6 separate regions of the Homo sapiens genome follow, and regions 1, 2, 3, 4 and 5 are each linked to region 6. Evidence: promoter capture Hi-C in 16 types of primary human blood cells and fetal thymus (Javierre and others, 2016). All regions are on one chromosome and are shown on one strand. Each heading gives the region's core, a stretch centred on a gene start or on the middle of the fragment in contact. The rest is flanking DNA. Distances are from core to core; before and after follow the strand shown.

Region 1 (2,946 bases), core at 142-2,641, 5.3 Mb after region 6:
ACTTTTGATATAATTTCAAACTTACAAATTGTAAGAATAGGCTGAGGAGGGTGGATGGCTTGAGCTCAGGAGTTTGAGACCAGCCTGGGCCACATGGCAAAACTCCGTTTCTACAAACGAAAAAAAAAAAAAAATGCCAGGCATAGTGGTGTGTGTCTTCAGCCCTAGCTATTAATACTTGGAATGCTGAGGCCAGAGAATCACTTGAGCCCAGGAGGTTGAGGCTGCGGTGAGCTGAGGTCGCACCACTGCACTCCAGCCTGGGTGACAAAGTGAGACCCTGTCTCAAAAAAAAAAAAAAAGTAGAAATAATACAGCAAATTCTTATATACTTTGCCTGTTTGACTAATTGTTTATGTTAGAAAAACTTTTTAAAATTTTAATACATTGTTTCAGAGAAATGTGGTAAAAAGGGTCTGAAAATTTTGGATCCTTTAAAATATGACATTTGTGTGAGTGGTACAGAATTTTAGTTTTGAATTTTACAGTTTTATATAAAATATTCTTGGTAGATGGGGTGAACTAATGTTTATTGAGTATTTCCTGGTTTCCAGATGTTGTGTTAGGATACTTTGCAAAATATTTCATGTAATCCAATTTCATGAAGAAGATTGTTATTCCTATTTTAGAGAAGAAGCAACAGACAGAGGTTATTTGCTCAGGATTGTAAGGGAGCAGAGCCAAGTTTTCAGAAAGTCTTTATGTTACCAAAGCCCACATCCCTTTCTCTACAAAGCTGCCTGTGAGATGATATATTGGAAGGAATTGATGAATACATTTATGTTGTCAAGAAGTTGATAATTACTCCTAAATTGGCTATGGTCTAATGTAGTGGATATTCAATAAAATTATGATGTTTGAATGCCATAAGAATTTATCTTCTGGCCTGTTTTGGGGGTTCATGAATGTAATTATTTTAGCTGCCTAACTGCTTATGTGGGTTTGTATGTACTTTTGAGTGGTTCTTGGATATGTGTACACACATACATACACACACACAGATATACACATACACACCTTTATATGCTCATGGGTGTAACTTCTTTATGTGTCTAGGTGTCTTTTTTTTGTGGAGGGGGGGCGAAGATCAATATGAATCCTATTTTGGCCCCCTGGATGCTGTCACCAGAAATAACAGCCATATCCCATATATAGCCTGTCCATGTAGCCCTGAGTTCTGCCAGCACCTGGCTTTTTGCCTTCCTTTTGTTTGTCATACCAGGCTCTCTTGGTCACCTTGGTAGCCTTGCTAAGCTTCTTGTAGCTATAGGTACCATTGGCTTAGCCCAGAAGAGATTCCTGCCATATGTACTTCAGAGTTTGGTTTGCCACTTGAGGAAGGGGTCTGTAGGGAGCTTGTAGATCAGCACACATTCAAAACTGAAACCGGAAGTGGGCAAGGCAAACCACAGGAAGATCCTGCCCGCAACTTGGTGACGTATCTATATAACCCATAGACACTTCCTGGCAATACCTTGTGAAACTTGCCTTTTCGTGTATAGTAGTTTCCTAACTTCTTGTTCTAGATTAAGCTTCAGTGAAAAGTGATTAATATGATAGCAGTGTAGATAACTGTATGATAGTTATTGTGCACATGACTTCCATGCAGCAACTAGCCCCGATTATGTTCTGTAGACTTTATCACTGAGGAGTTGCAGTGGTATTTATGCGTTTACTTTGACTTTGTCTTGTCACTAGCCATTGTCTTACTTATGTGTAATTGTACTTATATATAGTTCAGGTTTTATACCCACAAAAACCCTTGTGATATAATACCACTATACAGGATTGCCTTATTTATGTGGAATTGTACTTATATATAGTTCAGGTTTTATAGCCACACACACACACACGAAAAAACAGTTCTTTGCTTCACTGAGTCTCGGCTAGCCACCCAAACTGTGTCATATTCCTAGAGTCCTGTGCCCACTCAAGTGTTTGCTCACTGGTACTACCTCATTTTATCATAGTGCCTTGTTCTTAGGCAGAACCAGATTTCTGGTAGGAGTTATTTAATGTGTTGATTTTTTTTTTGAGACGGAGTCTCCCTCTGTCACCAGGCTGGAGTGCAGTGGTGCGATCTCAGCTCACTGCAACCTCCACCTCCCAGGTTCGACAATTCTCCTGCCTCAGCCTCCCGATTAGCTGGGACTGCAGGTGCACGCCACCACATCCAGCTAATTTTTGTGTTTTTAGTAGAGGCGGCATTTCGCCATGTTAGCCAGGATGGTCTCGATCTCCTGACCCGCCCACCTCGGCCTCCCAAAGTGCTGGGATTACAGGCATGAGCCACCGTGCCTGGCCAATGTGTTGTTTTTTTAAAGATTACCAATCGAGTGGGATTATAGACTCTTGGATTATTTTACAGATACAAGTCATTTGCCAGGAGTGAGGAAAATTGCTTGACAACTGAGTTATCTCACCATGTTAATTTATGCATTGGAAAACTCTGCTTAGTGGTAGATATTCCAGCAGTCACCATATGCCTATTGGTACTATTTCTCATTCTCTGTCTGATTAATGTCACAAATGTGTAACTTTCCAGTGGTGTTTTCAAGATGACAGTTAAGGAGCCACTAAGGAAGGAAATAACAGCTACATAACTTTTTTCTTTTCAGTAGTTCTTGACAGTCCCCCCTCCTTTTTTTGTTTTTGTTTCTTCATACCCTGCAGCAATCTGATGTACTCTGAAGGGGGTAAATTTGAGACTCTTTGGAAGGTCATGTGTGATAAAGACAGTTCTTCTCTTCCTTTCTCCATTCAGAACTGTTAAAGATAAATCAATGGGAGTGTTTTTTTCTTGTGTAAGATTTATTATATACAAAATATTTTTTAAGTGTGTGAAAACTGATTAAATGATAAAGGCTAAGGTAGCATGTTTAAAGCATGGTTTTCTGCTACTTTTCTACTAATCACTTAACCTCTCTGAGCCTCAGCTTCCTTGTC
Region 2 (3,096 bases), core at 54-2,553, 5.0 Mb after region 6:
AGTAAAGTTGTAGAACAAATTTTTGGAAGCTCAGAAATAATAATGGAGGGACTTACAGAAATAAACTATTAAGCTTAAATCTTAAAACATAGATATAAATATGAACTATCTTGAAAGTATAGAAAATTTGGCAAGTATAGATTAATAAGTATATAATATTTTATGCAAGTTATATTAATTATTAGGATCATGCATTATGTTTATACAGTACCTTACTATATAAAAAAGCAACTTTGTCCATATCTCATTTGATTCAATAAGCCTGCGATCTGCTTAGAGATGGGGAGATGGGACCTTGGGATGGTTAAAAGGCTTCCTCTAGAATTCAGATCTCATAAGCAGAGAAATACTATGTAAACCTGGATATCCCTGCCCACGTTGCTTGATAACCAAATGTGGTTACATAGTTTTTTGAAAATTGTAGGTGGTCCTATTCTTAGGGATAAAAATAGGCATTGGTTTTCTCTAAAACTTTCTGCAAGTCAAACAAACAAACAAAAACTCTGTATGTAGCACCCAGAAACCTGAAAGGACTTCTCAAGGTTTGTAGATGTCAGAGGTTCTCTGTTGATGACTTCCTAATACTAGAGTACCTGAGTTGGTTGTGTATTCAGCACAGTGCAGTGATTGAGTGTGTACATTCAGAGGCCAAACTGACTTTAAACCCTGGCTCTACCATTACTAGCAATGTACCCTTGAACAAGTTACTTCTCTGTGCCAGTTTCCTTATTTGTAAAATTTGGGTGGTGATAATAATACCTACTTCATGGTACTGTTGTGAAACTGAAATATAATAATACATGATGAGGGCTTAGAAAAGCACCTACCACATGGTACATGCTTTAAAAATGTTAGCTGCTATTCCTATTCATTTGTTTCTTAAAATTACCTTTTAGGCGCCAACTGACTGCACTGAGATGATGGATACAGGATAATAGTCTCTGTCCTCATGGAACAGAGGACATTATATTTCAGTTTGTGGTGAAGGACATGAATGGCGGTGCAGATCGATTTCCAGGCACTTGCTCACTTACAGCCATGAGAGGCTGTGAAGGGGCTGACCATGGGGTGGTGACCTTGCCAGCTCTTTGAAACAGGCACTCATTTTGACTCATCTGTGTCTGACACATGCTGGTTGTTTTAACTGTCACTCTTGGCCACAGGTTGTTAGTGGGAAGCATGATAAGAGATCCTAGATCTGTTTAGTCACCTGGTTTTGCCAACACTATTTTTGGTCCTGGTTGACAGAATGCTGCCCTGGCTACTATTTTGGACTGGACTGGCTCTTCAGCAGCCCCAGAAACCTTTGGTACTATCAGAGACCCAGTTCTCTGAGCAAGAAATGGCACAGCTGCTCCTGAGAGCAGGTAGGGGACTAGCCAGAGGCAGGAAGCCAGAACACTGCATTTCCTGTGTCTGCCGTAGCTAGAAACTTCTTGACCCAAAGAAACTATGTTGACGGGCATGGGTTTCCTAACTGGTGCTGGAAAGAGAGGACCTTCCTCCTCAGACCTCGCTTTGCTTGCTCTGTGCGTCCTACAGAGAGGCTCCAGCATGGCAGCCTGCCCGACTAGCACCTGCCATCACGGAGCTGGCACGGCCTCCAGCAATGGGCTGTCGACCAGAAAATCCTTCTGTGATTGCTGCTTCAGGAACTCGAGTGCTTCTCTGCCTCGTTTGAGCGTGATTAGCCCAGCTTGTACTCAACATACACTGGAATACTTCATACCGATAAGTCAGCAGTCAGACTGGAAAACCAGTCATCAGTTATCTTAGTGGCAACCAGCTTATTTTTATTTACTTTAAACTATGGTTGACCCTTGAACAACTCAGGGGTTAGGAGCACTGATTCCCCCCACCATGGCCCCCCACAGTTGAAAATCCAAGTATAACTTTTAAATCCCCAATATTGTAACTATACATAGCCTACTGTTAGCCAGAAGCCTTACTGATAATGCAGTCAGTTAACACATATTTTGTATGTTGTATGTATTATATGCTGTATTCTCACAATAAGCTAGAGAAATGAAAATGTTATTAAGAAAATCATAAGGAAGAGAAAACATTTCCTATTCGTTAAGTGGAAGTGGATCATCATAAAGGTTTTATCCTCATTGTCTTCACATTGAGTAGGCTGAGAAGGAGGAAGAGGAGGGGTTGGTCTTGCTGTCTCAGGGGTGGCAGAGGCGGAAGAGAACCTACGTGTAAGTCGACCTGCTCAGTTCAAATCCGTGTTGTTCAAGGGTAGACCTATGTCCTGGAAATTTTAAATGAAGTTTTGTCTTAAAAAAAAAAAAAAAACCTTGCCCCACACTTGTAAAACAAAGAAACAGCAAATAATGCCAACCTTTTGTATGTAGGGAGAATTAAGGTAAAAGGGGGAAAACCCTTTCTCTGTTTTACAAATGGCTCCCCAGGTGCTCTGACTTCTCTGGTCATGATCATCTCTTGATTTCCCAGACTGGAACCTCTTTTGTCGCCAGTGTGTCTGTCTCCGTTGCAGTCCCTAATGGAAACACAGACCTGAAAAATCAAAGCTTGGGCATTTATGGTCGAAGGTCATGGCATGGATGGTTGATTTTTTTTGGCTCTGTCTTCAAAGTGAAAAATCACTGTCTTCTTTGAGAAAGAAAGTATATTTTGGGAGGTGGCTAACGTCAGCAGGCAGGAAGATCTAAGCAAGCCTGTCTCATCCTCGGTTCACATAATTTCTAGCATTGCTAAGTTAGCAGCATATGATTTTTTTTCTCTTGTGCATCTTGCTCTAATGACTGCTGATTATCTTGAAACAGCTGCATTAATTGATGGTGTTTAACGACTCTACTTACACTAAGTAATTGCAGTTGGCTTGGCTGAGGATCCCGAGTTCTTTTTACTTGCTTTTTAGCTTGAGAAGTGTTTATTTACTCTGTGTGCCAAATGCCCGAAGGGGAGTTGGGAATGCCTCACCTCAGTGCCAGCCCACTGCCCAATGCTCACACTCTCCTGGGACATCATCATGTGCCACCACAGCATCCATTCCCTGTGTATTCTGATTGTCTGCTCATGGGCCTCTCTTCCAGCTTGATAGGGAGCCCCTAGAAAGCAGGGACCATA
Region 3 (3,131 bases), core at 95-2,594, 5.5 Mb before region 6:
AACCATGGATATCCATCAAGAGGGGAAAGTAGCACTCAAAACCCAAACATTCAAATCTTAAGAGCACTGGGAAGTGGACAGATGCCACCCACCTCTTTTTCAAAGGAACGGAAGGGCCTACCTTCAGCCAAAACAATGTAAGGCTCTTTGGTCTGGAAAAATAAATGCTGAGTGTGAATTTTGTTGAAGTTTACAAAACTATAATGCACAAAAAAAGGATAAAAATAAGCTTATCAACCACTGAAATTTTAAACCTATGAATGATCCCCTGAAGTTTGAAAGTGACGCAATTCCTAAGCTAAAGGATTACATAACAATTAGTGAGTTTAAAATGTAAAAATGGTTCAAGAAAATTTTAATACACTGATCAACAAAACTGGAACTTTGATGGATTACATTTCTAACCTTGTTATACTGTATTTACAACCTTGAGGCTAACCCTATCTTATCAAAACATCTCTCAGTATTATCTTGGGACACAGATTAGTGAGCTGAATAGACCAACATAGGTGCAATCCTGAATAACATTATTCATTCTGGTAGATGAAATACATTCATTCATCAATTAATTTTCCTAAATAATCTAAAATTTGGCTCAATTTATGTTTTTTGTAATAAACCTACAAGCAAGAAAAAAATTAAGCCAAACCATCACAAAATTTACCAAAAATGGCACCGATGCCAGATTTCTTTTGAAGTCTATCAGAGTACCACTCTCAACACACTTCTTCCTCTCTATCCCACAAATTCTTAAATAATCTGGAATCCATAGCTCAGCTTCATGTGGTCTGTGTATGTGAAATAATATATAGGAATGAATGCATGGTACATTTTTCTGGGGAAGGAGTCCACTGATTTCATTAAATTTTTTAAGGGTATCCAAAAAAGCTTCAGAATCACTTCTGTACAACCTTTCCCTGGCTACAATTACTACCTATTTCCTGATAACTCCCAAATCTCCATCTCTATCCCAGATTTCTATGCCCAAAAATTTATAACCAACTGCTGGGTTAGGTGTGGTAGTTCATGCCTGTAATCCCAATACTTTGGAAACTTGAGGTGGGATGACAGCTTGAGCTCAGGCGTTCAGGAACATTCTGGGCAACACAGTAAAATAGTCTCTACCAAAAATGTTAAAAAAAAAAAAAGTCAACTGGGTGTGGTGGTGCACGCCTGCAGTCCCGGCTACACAAAGAAAGCTGAGGCAAGAGGATCATTGGAGTTGGAGGCTGAAGTGAGCTACAATTGCACCACTGGGCACCAACCTAGGCAACAATGTGAGATCCTACCTCTAAAAAATAATAATAAATTAAAAATAAATAAAAATATAACCAAATACATGTTGTACATCTTCTCCTGCATACTTGGCAGAAATCTCAAACTTACCATATCTTAAACAGACCTCATCATCTTCCCAACCTAACCTGTTGCTCCTCCTGTGTCTCCCTGTCTCAGGGACCAGCATCACCATCCACTCAGTTTGGTGGGCGAGAGAAGTTCCTGTGACTTCACCTTCCAATGACAGAATCCTAACAATTCTATCTACTAATTATCTCTTAAGCATTACCACTTCTCTCCACTCCTTCCAACTCTGCCACAATCTTAAGCCGGTCACAATCATCTTACCTGGACTGTGGCAGTTTTCTCCTAACTTGTTTTCCTGTCTTCTGTGTAGCTCCCCTGCAAAATTCACTCTCCATGCTCCAGTCAGGCCAGACCCTTTCTGATCTGGCTGAGTTTGGGCCTTGCTTAATTCACACTGTGTTCCAGAAAACACATCAGTGCATCATATTCTGGTCTTTAAGCTTCTGTATAGGCAACATCCTCTGCCTGAAACAAACTACTCTACGAAAGTTAACTCCCAATCAACTTTCAGGTTTCAATGTAAATATCATCTTTCTATTAAAGAGGCCTTTCTTGATCCCACCTCTTGACTCAACACCACCATGAGGACTAATTTAAATATCTATGTGTTCCTATAGCAGCACCCTATGCTTATCACCACCACAGCAATCAACACCGCATTGAAATGTCCTTTTGCAATATCCACGGTCACTTTAAAATGGAAGCATTATGAAAATATATTATCCACCAATATCCCTAGCACTTAGGACAGTGCCTGACACATACAATAAAAGTAGGCAAGCAAATATGTTTATATGTTTGTGTAAATAAACTGCTGTTTGCATTTCCTAGGCATTTAAACATATCCAATGCAGGAATGCTGCCTCTAACTGAAATAGCGTCTGAGGACAAACCAAGACATTAACTTTTCAATATCTGGTGACTAAAAAAAGCCACATTTCTGTTTAACAGTTAAAAGAAAAACACATGCTCCCTTAGCAAATGTGACCCACTCAAATACCTGCTGAAAAGATGTCCATTGCTCTCTTCAACTCTCCTCTTGTTCTCTGATTGCTATTTAAGTCTACAAGCGGAGTTGAAGGATCTCTCATATATTCTAACTCAGTGGCAAACATCCCACCATCAACAAAACGTTCAGGAGCAATATAGCAAGTTCTCCTCCGTGATGTGTCAAAGAAATAATTGAAATCTGCCGGGTTGTCTTCTGGAAGATAAGTGGGCTTAAAACTGGCAAAATCAGTTAGAAGAACCCAATTCCAACTGGTGACCATCACATTCTCAGTCTTGATGTCCCCATGACGAACTCCAGATTTGTGTGCTTGGTCCACAGCTGTCAGGATCTGGAAAGCAATCCAGCGCTTCTCAATGTTATTCAAGAATGGACGGGTACTGATGCGATCATAGAGATTGTCTCGCACATACTGCCTAAAGAGCATAGCTGCTTTCTCAGATGCTTTTTCTGATGCTTTCTGGAAAGGTAGACAATTCTGTGCAGAATTAAGCCTGATTTTCAGTTCCTCCAGCTCTTGTTTATAGCTGGTTAAAGGCAATGTGGGATCCTGAATTGCAAAAACCTTCACAACGACCAGGCCTTCTCGGTGCTTGGCTCGAGCAACTTTAAAAAACCGAGTACTCCCCAGGCTTTTATCATATTCAAAGTCATGAATATCTGAAAAATAACTCTCTACAGAAAGGATCTGGGAGGGAGCAATGCCAGCAAGCTGATTTCCCATAATGGCAAGCACCTCTGTGGTCTTTAGTAAGGT
Region 4 (2,894 bases), core at 379-2,878, 5.3 Mb before region 6:
ATTCTCATTATCTACTGAGGTGGGAGGGGGTGGTTGTGAGATAGGAGAATGGTGCCTACTTGTGTCTGTCTCTGTATTTTGTGGCCAAATATGAATTTTGTGGTTTCATAGTAAAAGATTATACAGTTCTTAAAAACGTGTGGGGTTTTCTGTCCCGTTATTCTTGACCATCAAGAGACCATTTTTGTCAGTTTCTCCCTATCGTCACATTTTTTTTTATATATAAACAGTTTGAAGAAGAGCCTGTATATAGCCTAGAAATTTTCAAAAGTGACTGACCATATTAAACTACATAGATTGATACCTGTGCCTTTTTATTGTTCACTTGCCTTTTTGTAGTTTTCATCCTTCTTTGATATAGTGTAGTATTAACAATTTGGAGGTGTGAAACAAAAATGGATTCAAGTCTTGACTAACTTGTCTTGAACCACTTAAAGCTGTGTGATTTTAAGTAAATTACGTCACCTTTCTGAGCCTGTATTTCTTCATCTATAAATTGGGATTGATAATCTTTAACTCACAGAATTGAGAGGATTAAATGAGAAACCCTGTATAAATTCTCTTGTGAGGTAGGAATGATAACGTTTAAGAGCTTGAGTTGTGGTGGAACCATGCAGACTGATTTGAATGCTGGATTCGTCGCTTACCATTTGGCTTTGTGCATATTAAAGTTTTCTGTGCTTCCGTTTCTTCATAAAATAAAGATAATGATAGAACCTACCTTATGAGGTTGTTGTAAACATTCAAACAGTATCTGGCACATAGTAAGTGCTCGGTAAATGTTAATTATAAATTGCCTAGCTGAATGTTTGATACATACTAATAGGCCACCTGGCATTAATATTGTCATGACAGTTAAATGTTGGAAGGGGGAACAGTAGTAGCCAAATGCTCAAAATGAAGTTGTCATTGTTAGTTGAGGGATAAGTGGAGTTAGGTAAGGAATTTTCTATGGCATTAGTGCTTTTAAGCCTACAGAAAAAGTTAGGGCTCTACCAAGAAGCCAGGGTCCAGTACAGAAAGAGACAGGTTTGGATTTGAAGCCCGACAAGTAATGTTTTCCTCTCCTGAAAAATCTGACAAGTTACTAGGCTTCTAAGCTTTCTCAGCCTCTAAGTTATCTCATCTGTAAATGAGATAATGCCCTCTTGCAAAGTTGATGTGAGTAATAAATGAAGCCGCCAGAGCAATGTTTGACATACAGTTAACTTGGATGAATTGAGTGATGCTGCTGTTCCCTAGTAAGAGTATCCTCCAGTAGGTATGCAGGTAGTTACATTTGTGGGTGTGAACAGTGTAGAATTGATAGTGTTTCCCTAGAGCATCAGCATGAAGGTTTCTTAGGTAGCTTACAGTGGTGTGGGGAGGAAATGGTTTCATCCATGTGTTGGTTCCTTCAGCAATGGTGGTATTTTCTTTGGCACTTCGGTTTAGATTCTTCTGGACTTTTTTCCTAGGGCCCATTTAAACTTTCTCAGCAAAGCTTGACCAATTTTTAGCTGTAGACTCCAGGATGTTTCATGAACACTTTCTGCTTGTCACTAGGAACGTTTAAAATGTTAATTTCCTGGAATTTTTGGACTACTTAACATTCAGTCGTGAGTTAGGATTTTATCCAGATCCTTTGGAATTTGTTTTTACATGTTTATCACAAATCTAAACAGATCCCGCTTAGGCATCTTGAGATGCACAAGTAAACAGCTCTTACCTGATTTTTAAAAGTTAATTGCATGTTTAAAGTGATAGCTTACTAGAAAAGATATGTCTAGCTGGAGAAGCTTGCACATAGGTTTTCCTTTCTAGTAATGGATTTATTTTTTGGAATAAATTTGGCCTTTCCCATAGAAAATTCAGTGTGACTTTAATACACATGAAACTTTAATATAGCCTTAAATGTTTGACTAGTGGATAGAAATGTAATAGTCTTCAGGATTTCAGGACATGGTTAATTTAAGATTATAGACAGAGCTAATAGGTGTAGAGAACAATGCCCCAATCTTTTTTGTTTGAAAATGGTTGTATTTACACTTTACTTTTAAAAGCAGTTTCTTAATTCAATTTCAAATTGTTAATCAGCTAGGAATGTCTCAAGAAAAAATTGCATTACTATAGTTGGAGAAGCTATAGGGAAAAAGGGATGAGAAGCCACCTTAATTTTATTCCTTTAACTGAAAATAGGAAACCAGGTTATAAAAATATATCTTTGGGTGTGGGAAATATAGTTTATGTTGTTTGCAGTTTTGTCCATAAAATGATAGTCTTAATTAGTACTCTGAAAAAGAGTTGAAACTAAAAGAGATTATATATATGACATTTTGTAAACTGTAGTAATTTAAGCCAGAGGATGCTGTAGAGAGTACTTGTATGCAATAACCTTCTGACAGTTGGATTCCAAATACTTGATTTGTCTTCATATTTTTGTCATTCATTTAAAGTCAGCAGAATTCAGGTCTGTTAACGCAAAGCATTATGAAACAAAATAGTTTCCTAGGGAACACACCCCTAGGGGCCCAGGACTGATTTTGGAGATCTTAGTTAGCCATGATCTGTTTTGCAAGGTTAAATTTTGTTTTAAAGGTGCCAGGAACACTGTGGCTTGATGGTAAAGTTAGCATGAATTTTAAATTACACCGTTGTTACATGTAGCATCTTAAAATATCTTAAGGATCAGTTCAAGAGGTCCCCTCACATTTACTTTGTTGAAACAAATTCTTTTTAATAATGGTTTCAGGCATCAGTTGTGACAAGGTTATCTTTATGCTTTTCATGTAGACAAATGTTGGTAAAAGGCAGTAAAGGGTGCATCCTGAGGTTAATGCCATCATTTCATGAAAGAAAGGATCTCTCAAAAAAAAGGCTAAATTGATAATTTCCTCTTGGATGTATATGACTGC
Region 5 (2,890 bases), core at 13-2,512, 5.2 Mb before region 6:
GTCTGAGATGTGACTGAAGAGGAGGCTAAGAGGCTAGTTCCTGGTCAGCTGTATAGCCCAGGGAATGGCACTACTGATATTTTGGGCTAGAGATTCTTTGTTATGGGACACTTTCCTGTGCACTGTAAGACTTACAGGTTGTAAAATTTAGCAGCATCTTTGGCCTCTCCCCACTAGATACCGATAGCAACCACTACCCCTTCTACTCCCTAGGTAGGGACAACAAAAATGTCTCCAGGCATTGCCAGATGTCCTCTGGGGGACAAAATCACCAATGGTGATAAAGCTTTGGTGTAGACTGATAACAGTGCTGGGAGAACTCTGACAGAAAAGGAAGACCTGACTTAAATCCACTGGGAAGCTGTGGTTGCCGTCCTACATCCTTAAGTAGACTGGTGCCACGTGTGGTCTGTGAGTTTTGTGAGACTGAATATTTCATTGGATCTAAGAAGATCCCCTAATGGGCATTGCAATTGTTTTTTTTTTAAGTTATCTCTATTTAATGTCTAAATCTAGTTCTTTTATCAGCATAGTTTCATATCTATTTGTAATTTTAAATATATATGTAATATAAAAAGACAACACTGGGATCCATGAGAATTTTTTTCTCCTTGAAAAGGTGGTCTGGGTGTTACTCAGGTTTAAGCAACACTAAGTTAGACTAAGAGTCATGTTTTCTGTATCAAACTAGGCAAATAACCATAATGACACAAAAACCTATTTTAAAAAAGGTATTCATTAATAAAAGTTAAAAAATTAGACCTTAGCATCAGTACTAACCTTATCTGAAATCCGATGTAGTCTGAGATGTTGTGCCTATGATTAGTGTCTATACACTTTTTTTGCAGTTGTGAATTTTTTTCCTTTTTTTTTCAGCCACGTAACCCATTCTATTGATAGCTAGTATTAACCTGGTAGTAATAACAATATAGTAGTAATAACTGTGACGATAACACAGACTACTGAAGTACAGTGGAAATGGTAGATTTAGAGCTAAAAGAGCTAGGTTTGAGTCCTAGCACTGACACTTTCTGGCTAAGACATTACCTAGTTCACTCAAGTTCTAGATTTCTTAGCTACGACATGAGGGCAAGATAGCACTCAACCTCATCAGTTTGTTATAGTAAGTGAACTAATATAGAAGACAGCACTTTGTATCCTGTAAAGTACTTTACAAAAATTTCATTAGTATTACAAATACTTACCTCAGTCAATCTGCTTAAGTCAGAATGATCCTTGGCCAGTTCTACTGCATCAATGATTGAGGTTCTGATATTTTTATTAATCCTTTCCACTTCACTGAAAGCTAGAGGCTGAGGAGGCAATGCATTCCAGGATGTCTTGTCCAGATGTGGTGAGGCATTTAAAAGAAGCCCATAGATGATTTGCCTGATGGGCTGAGATATTCTGTGGGCATTTGGTTGCTGCATGTTTTCCACCTGTGTGGGAAGAATGGTCCGTCTTAGGACCAAAGCATCACTGATGAAAGGAGATAGCTGGCCTTTAGCTAAAGCCACTAATACCCATTCTGGTAAACCAAGATTCAAGGCATCTGGACAGACATAAGTACCACACTGGAAGAAGTCCTGTAGCTTCACCTGGGACTGTTGGTATTCTTCCATGGAACAGCAGAGAAGTTCCTTAACATTTTCTCGATCCTTTTTTGGGAGGTATTTCAGAACATTATCTAGTGCTTCGGTAGGGTTGGCAAAATGAGACAACCAATTCAGAAGTCCCAGGATTCGGTGGTGTCTCCTCCCTTTAGAACTGGTAGCTCCAAGAGGAAGACGCGCTTTACTTAAGAATGTCTCCATGATGGGTAGATTAACATGGTCATTTCCACATAGCACCGCAAAGAGAGGTAGTAGAGCTTTATTCATATTGCTGAAGTGATGGCAGAATGCATCAAGGGAAAAGCATTTGGCAGGGATATAGTTTTGTGTGCCCTTAATAGTGTTCATATTTCTCCACTGAAAGCTATTCAATGGGCAAAACCCAGTTTTCAGGTCAAAAATGCAAAAGTCACTATCTGATGATAACACAGGGCAATTCCAATGGTTAGCAAGTGTCATAATGTCCCGATCTGCTTCTGAAAAGCACTGGACAAAACACACCCGCAGCTTGATCAAAACCTGTATGAATACTTCCCGGATGAGTAAGGGACATACGTACCCACTCCCACCAACAGAAAGGGAATGGGCCATCTGGATCTTCTCTCTAGCTCTATCCTTTAAAGTTGTAAGCTTTTTATCTGAAATGTCACATCCTCCATCTAATACAACATATGGGCATATATTACAAGCAAACAGTGATTCAAAGAATTTTTGTACAACATCTGCAAAAGAATCATAGTCCCCTCCATACCGGAGATCCAAGTTTGAACTGAAGCAAAGACGGTGGAAAAGAGCATAACCATCAATGACAATTTTTGTGTCCCGCAACTTCAAATCAGTGAAGAACTCATTACTATGATCTTCCACAAAACTCATTAGTCCTCGGATACCCATGATGACAGTCTAAAGAATTAATCGCCTGTTTAAAACAACAGAAAACATTTTCAATTGATGCTAGTTATGGGGCACCAAGTCATTGCTTCCAGCACCATTAAATCAATAGCAAATGTTATGAAGTGCTCTTTAGATAGAACATAGATATCAACATCATAAATTCTTACCTAGATCCTCAAGCAATGTTAGCTGTGCTTTTTCATTCTCCTTTGCTTTCTGATACAAGGCACAAATTCAATGGTTTCATGGGTTGTAATCTTTGGATGGTGACAGAGGCTGCTGCTAATTCTAAAGAAAAATCAGTTGAAGTCCATTACTGACACACCAGTATAGAAGTTCTGTGAACTTTGATTCTTAAGTGGTAATAGTCAACATCTTACAGC
Region 6 (3,349 bases), core at 617-3,116:
GGAGGAACCTGGGGCAAAGTTCCGCGCCGGGTTCTCCAGCTGTGGGTTCATCAGCTTAGCCCACCACTCCCACGTAACACCAGTTTGGGGAAATGCAAACACGCCACATGTGCCCACATGTGCATGTTTTGATCATGTTTAACCACTTTTAACCGCCGTAGGTACGTAATCAGCTCCCGCGGCAAAGGTTTAAGAAAAAAAAAAAAAAAGCCTTGTGCATGCATCTTACCCCCACTTAAACCACCACCACCAGATGAACCGAGGCGAATTAAACCATTTTGAACGTTAACGCCGCTGCACAAAGCGGTATGAAAGGGTTCTCTGCCTTTCTGAAACGCCGGGCAAAAGTCCCTCAGCAAGTTTCAAAACTAATGACCGTACAGCGCTGCACAAATAACAAAAGCTTAATACCAACCACCAGGCCGTCAACCCGCTCACGTTACCACTGCCCAGAAGGCTTTTAAAAACAAGCATTGAAAAGGGAACAATAAAAAGCGTCTCACCGCAAACACAGCACGAAAGGGACTGTCGGAAGTAAGGCAAGAGCCTGTTAATCTCAGTAAACGCCTTGGGGTCTCCGGGGTCGTAGTTGAGCACTAGGCGGCTCGCGGAAATGTAGAGAGCAGTAGCATTCACGGGGTTCATTGCAGACACTTCGACACCAATGGCTCCCGGTTGAAAAGAAATTCCGGATCCAACTTAGTAAGCAGCCAGGGAACGATGGCGAATTTGCAACAATTCGGAAGAAATCAGAGCCGAACCATTGGCCAAACAAGTAACCAAAATCCGTGCAAGTTTGTGGAGCTGAAACAATCCTCCCACACATGGGGCCTTGGCGCCCCTCCGTCCCTGAGACTTCCAGACCAAAAATATGAGAGAGAAACCAGCGTTCGAGTTCGTCCGGAGCGACCACAGAGCGCAGAACGCGGCGGCTTGGGCGCTCGGGGCGGGACTCGGAGCTCAGTCTAGCCCCGCGGCTCGGCAGGCGGCCTGCACTCGAGCTCCATCTCCGGACACGGAGGCGCCTCCTCAAGTCGAGCTGGCAGGCGCGGGAGCAGGCCCCGGCCCCGTCTGAGGCGCGGCACGCTTCTCCCGGGCTGCAGGGCCTCTTACTCCATCCCAGTACAGGGCGCGGAGGCGGCGGCGACGGCAAGGACGACGGTCGGGCAGCGGCTTCCCGGATCTAGTGCAAGACGCCGCGGCGGCGACGAAGGTTGATGTTGCGGCTGGCGGACGCCGCCGCCGCGCTCTCCATATCGGACGCGGGGCCCAGACTGCGCCCTGGCTCTCCGCCCCGTGGGTTGCAGCCCGCAGTTCCCCGAGGTGGCGAGGCGGGCGGGAGTCCTCAACCCGGAGGGGAAGGCCGGGGAGGAAGTGCGCGGGCCGCCGCCGGCGGGCGGGAGGGGGCGGGGGGCAAGCCCGGCCGGGCCGCGGCGGCGCCCCTCGCGCCTCAGTCGCACACTCCGGGGTCACCAGACTCAAGCGCCGCCCCCTCACTGCCCGGCCATTTTTTCGGCGCCACACACACAGACGACTCCTCCGCCGAGCACGACGGCCGCCGCCGCCCTCAGCACTCCCCGGCCGCGGAAGGCAAGCGCTCACACCGCCAGGCCCCGCCGCCGCCCAGCGCACACAGCAAGGCCCCGCCGCAGGCCCCTCCCCCGTGCCTCGCCGCCCTCACCCCGACTCCACGCGCCACTCCAGCTCGGTAGGGCCCGGGCTGCTGCGGCCTTAATGGATCCCGCGGGCTGTGTGGCGCCTCAGGCCTCTGCTGGCGGCGACGACGACCGTTACCCCAACGGGCAAAGCCACTGTCATCCCCGAGACTCCCCCGCCGCCGTCGTCGCTAGCGCTCGCACGCATGCGCAGAGCACACTCTCACCCCTCCCCCCTTTCCTCTCCCTTCGCTTCCCTTTTCCCTTGCTTCTCCTCTAACAACCCCCTCCACAGCCTCCCAGAGCTACCGGCTCACTCCACGCATGCGCAAGCTGCTACCTAGCTCCGCCGCCTTTCGCCCTTCCGCGTGCGCTTTGACCGCCCACCCAGAAAACCGGATAAACACATCAGCCTGCTCGCGCCAGTCCCTCACCGCTGCCAACCCACCCTGGGCTCACTGCGCATGCCTGGCTCTCCACTTCGACTCTCAGAATGGAGCATGCTCTCTGCGAGCCGACAGCTCTCTTCGCCCCTCCCCCACGTGCTCTCAAATTCCCTCTCCCAGGCATGTGGGCTGTGGTGAAACATTCGTTAGCTGGCACATCCTTCCCCAGTGTGGGCTGCAGGCTTCCCGCATTACACTGCTTCTGTGCCCGCCAACGCCGGGGCCCGACTTGGTAGCGCCATGTGGCGCTCTGCACTGGCCTGAACGCGGCCTCTCGTCCTGACTGACCGCGGTGTGAGGAAATAGCCGCGCCAGGCCCCAAGCCCCGCCCTCGCGGCCTTTCTCCTGGAACCGCTCATCCCGACCGCGGAAAGGGCGCAGCCTCGGCTGGCTGGCAGGCTCTCGCCGAGCCGGGAAGGCTGCAGTAGTCAACGTGGCTGCGCGCCCAGCAGGCGTGCGGACGGCTTTTGCCGGGTCGGGGCCGCGTTCCGCACCTCTCTGCGGTGGTTCGCAGTCAGAGGGCTCTAAGGCCCTGGCAGGCTGTATGTAAGCGTGGAGGCTCGAACCCACTGCCCCCTCCTACCCGTCGGACCCGCGCTGTTCCCACGGCCTCTGGCCCTTGGACTCGTGCGGCCTCACCTTCATGGGTGCCGATCAGGACTTCACCGAGCTCTCACCGGAACAGAGTCCTGTTTTAAAAACAAAACGAACTCCTTTTTTTTTTTTTTGAAAGACCTAGCTTTTTTAAAAGACCTAGCTCTTCTGTGTGAACAGATGTCTTGAAGAATGCGTGATCTTGCTCTAGAACAAACCCAAATCCTTGCAAATGTTTTGTTTTTTAAAACAAGCTTTTGCCTTTTGTTTTTGCAGGAGATCAAGGGCACTGGGATATAAATAAACAAAAGCCTGACTTAGTAGATGACTTCCCTCCCATCTCAAAGTACAAAACCTTTTTTTGAGTAGCACAAATAGTAACAGGCCATAGGAAGCATTTCTTATCTCTGTACACACCAAAGCTCCTCAGCATAATTTTTCATGCACAGTAGGTACTCTATACGTTTGCAAAGTGAAAATTATGATGCGTGTAAATCTATTGTGGCACATGTTACATATGTACACAGGCACGTATATGGAACATGTAAATGTGGTACGTGTTAGTTACAAGCTGCCACTTGAGGTGAGTAGGAATAGTTAAGATATCAAGGGAACACATATAATCTCGATTTATAATTTCTATTACCATTTGAA

What was found. Contacts are between HindIII fragments. The CHiCAGO score rates a contact against its expected background, and 5 or more counts as called.
Region 1: a fragment that was not itself captured here is called in contact with the fragment with the promoter of MSL2 in region 6 in 3 of 17 cell types (total B cells, non-activated CD4 T cells and total CD8 T cells); the score reaches 11.1 in total B cells.
Region 2: a contact is called between a fragment that was not itself captured here and the fragment with the promoter of MSL2 in region 6, in 1 of 17 cell types (non-activated CD4 T cells). The highest score is 6.5, in non-activated CD4 T cells.
Region 3: a contact is called between a fragment that was not itself captured here and the fragment with the promoter of MSL2 in region 6, in 1 of 17 cell types (total B cells). The highest score is 7.1, in total B cells.
Region 4: a fragment that was not itself captured here is called in contact with the fragment with the promoter of MSL2 in region 6 in 1 of 17 cell types (total B cells); the score reaches 5.7 in total B cells.
Region 5: a fragment that was not itself captured here is called in contact with the fragment with the promoter of MSL2 in region 6 in 1 of 17 cell types (naive B cells); the score reaches 5.8 in naive B cells.

The regions. Positions count from the first base shown.
Region 1 is chr3:141,497,585-141,500,530 of GRCh38, forward strand. All of the region lies in intron 1 of RASA2 (RAS p21 protein activator 2), which reads left to right. Among named protein-coding and RNA genes, the nearest start is that of RASA2, 12 kb to the left of the region's middle. The HindIII fragment of the contact is 278 bases long and covers 1,253-1,530 here.
Region 2 is chr3:141,236,781-141,239,876 of GRCh38, forward strand. All of the region lies in intron 1 of PXYLP1 (2-phosphoxylose phosphatase 1), which reads left to right. Among named protein-coding and RNA genes, the nearest start is that of PXYLP1, 6.5 kb to the left of the region's middle. The HindIII fragment of the contact is 2,464 bases long and covers 72-2,535 here.
Region 3 is chr3:130,742,121-130,745,251 of GRCh38, forward strand. PIK3R4 (phosphoinositide-3-kinase regulatory subunit 4) reads right to left here. Exons shown (of 20, transcript NM_014602.3): 2 at 2,366-3,131. The coding sequence starts at 3,098. Among named protein-coding and RNA genes, the nearest start is that of PIK3R4, 3.1 kb to the right of the region's middle. The HindIII fragment of the contact is 917 bases long and covers 887-1,803 here.
Region 4 is chr3:130,896,270-130,899,163 of GRCh38, forward strand. All of the region lies in intron 2 of ATP2C1 (ATPase secretory pathway Ca2+ transporting 1), which reads left to right. Among named protein-coding and RNA genes, the nearest start is that of ATP2C1, 3.6 kb to the left of the region's middle. The HindIII fragment of the contact is 295 bases long and covers 1,482-1,776 here.
Region 5 is chr3:131,022,800-131,025,689 of GRCh38, forward strand. It overlaps ASTE1 (asteroid structure-specific endonuclease 1), which reads right to left. Exons shown (of 6, transcript NM_014065.4): 2 at 2,675-2,795; 3 at 1,206-2,532. The coding sequence starts at 2,507. Among named protein-coding and RNA genes, the nearest start is that of ASTE1, 2.6 kb to the right of the region's middle. The HindIII fragment of the contact is 1,957 bases long and covers 285-2,241 here.
Region 6 is chr3:136,194,469-136,197,817 of GRCh38, forward strand. MSL2 (MSL complex subunit 2) reads right to left here and starts at 1,867. Exons shown (of 2, transcript NM_018133.4): 1 at 504-1,867. The coding sequence starts at 645. RefSeq lists enhancers at 655-724, 775-824, 824-1,570, 875-944, 1,571-2,317 and 2 more and a silencer at 1,285-1,674. The HindIII fragment of the contact is 2,546 bases long and covers 402-2,947 here.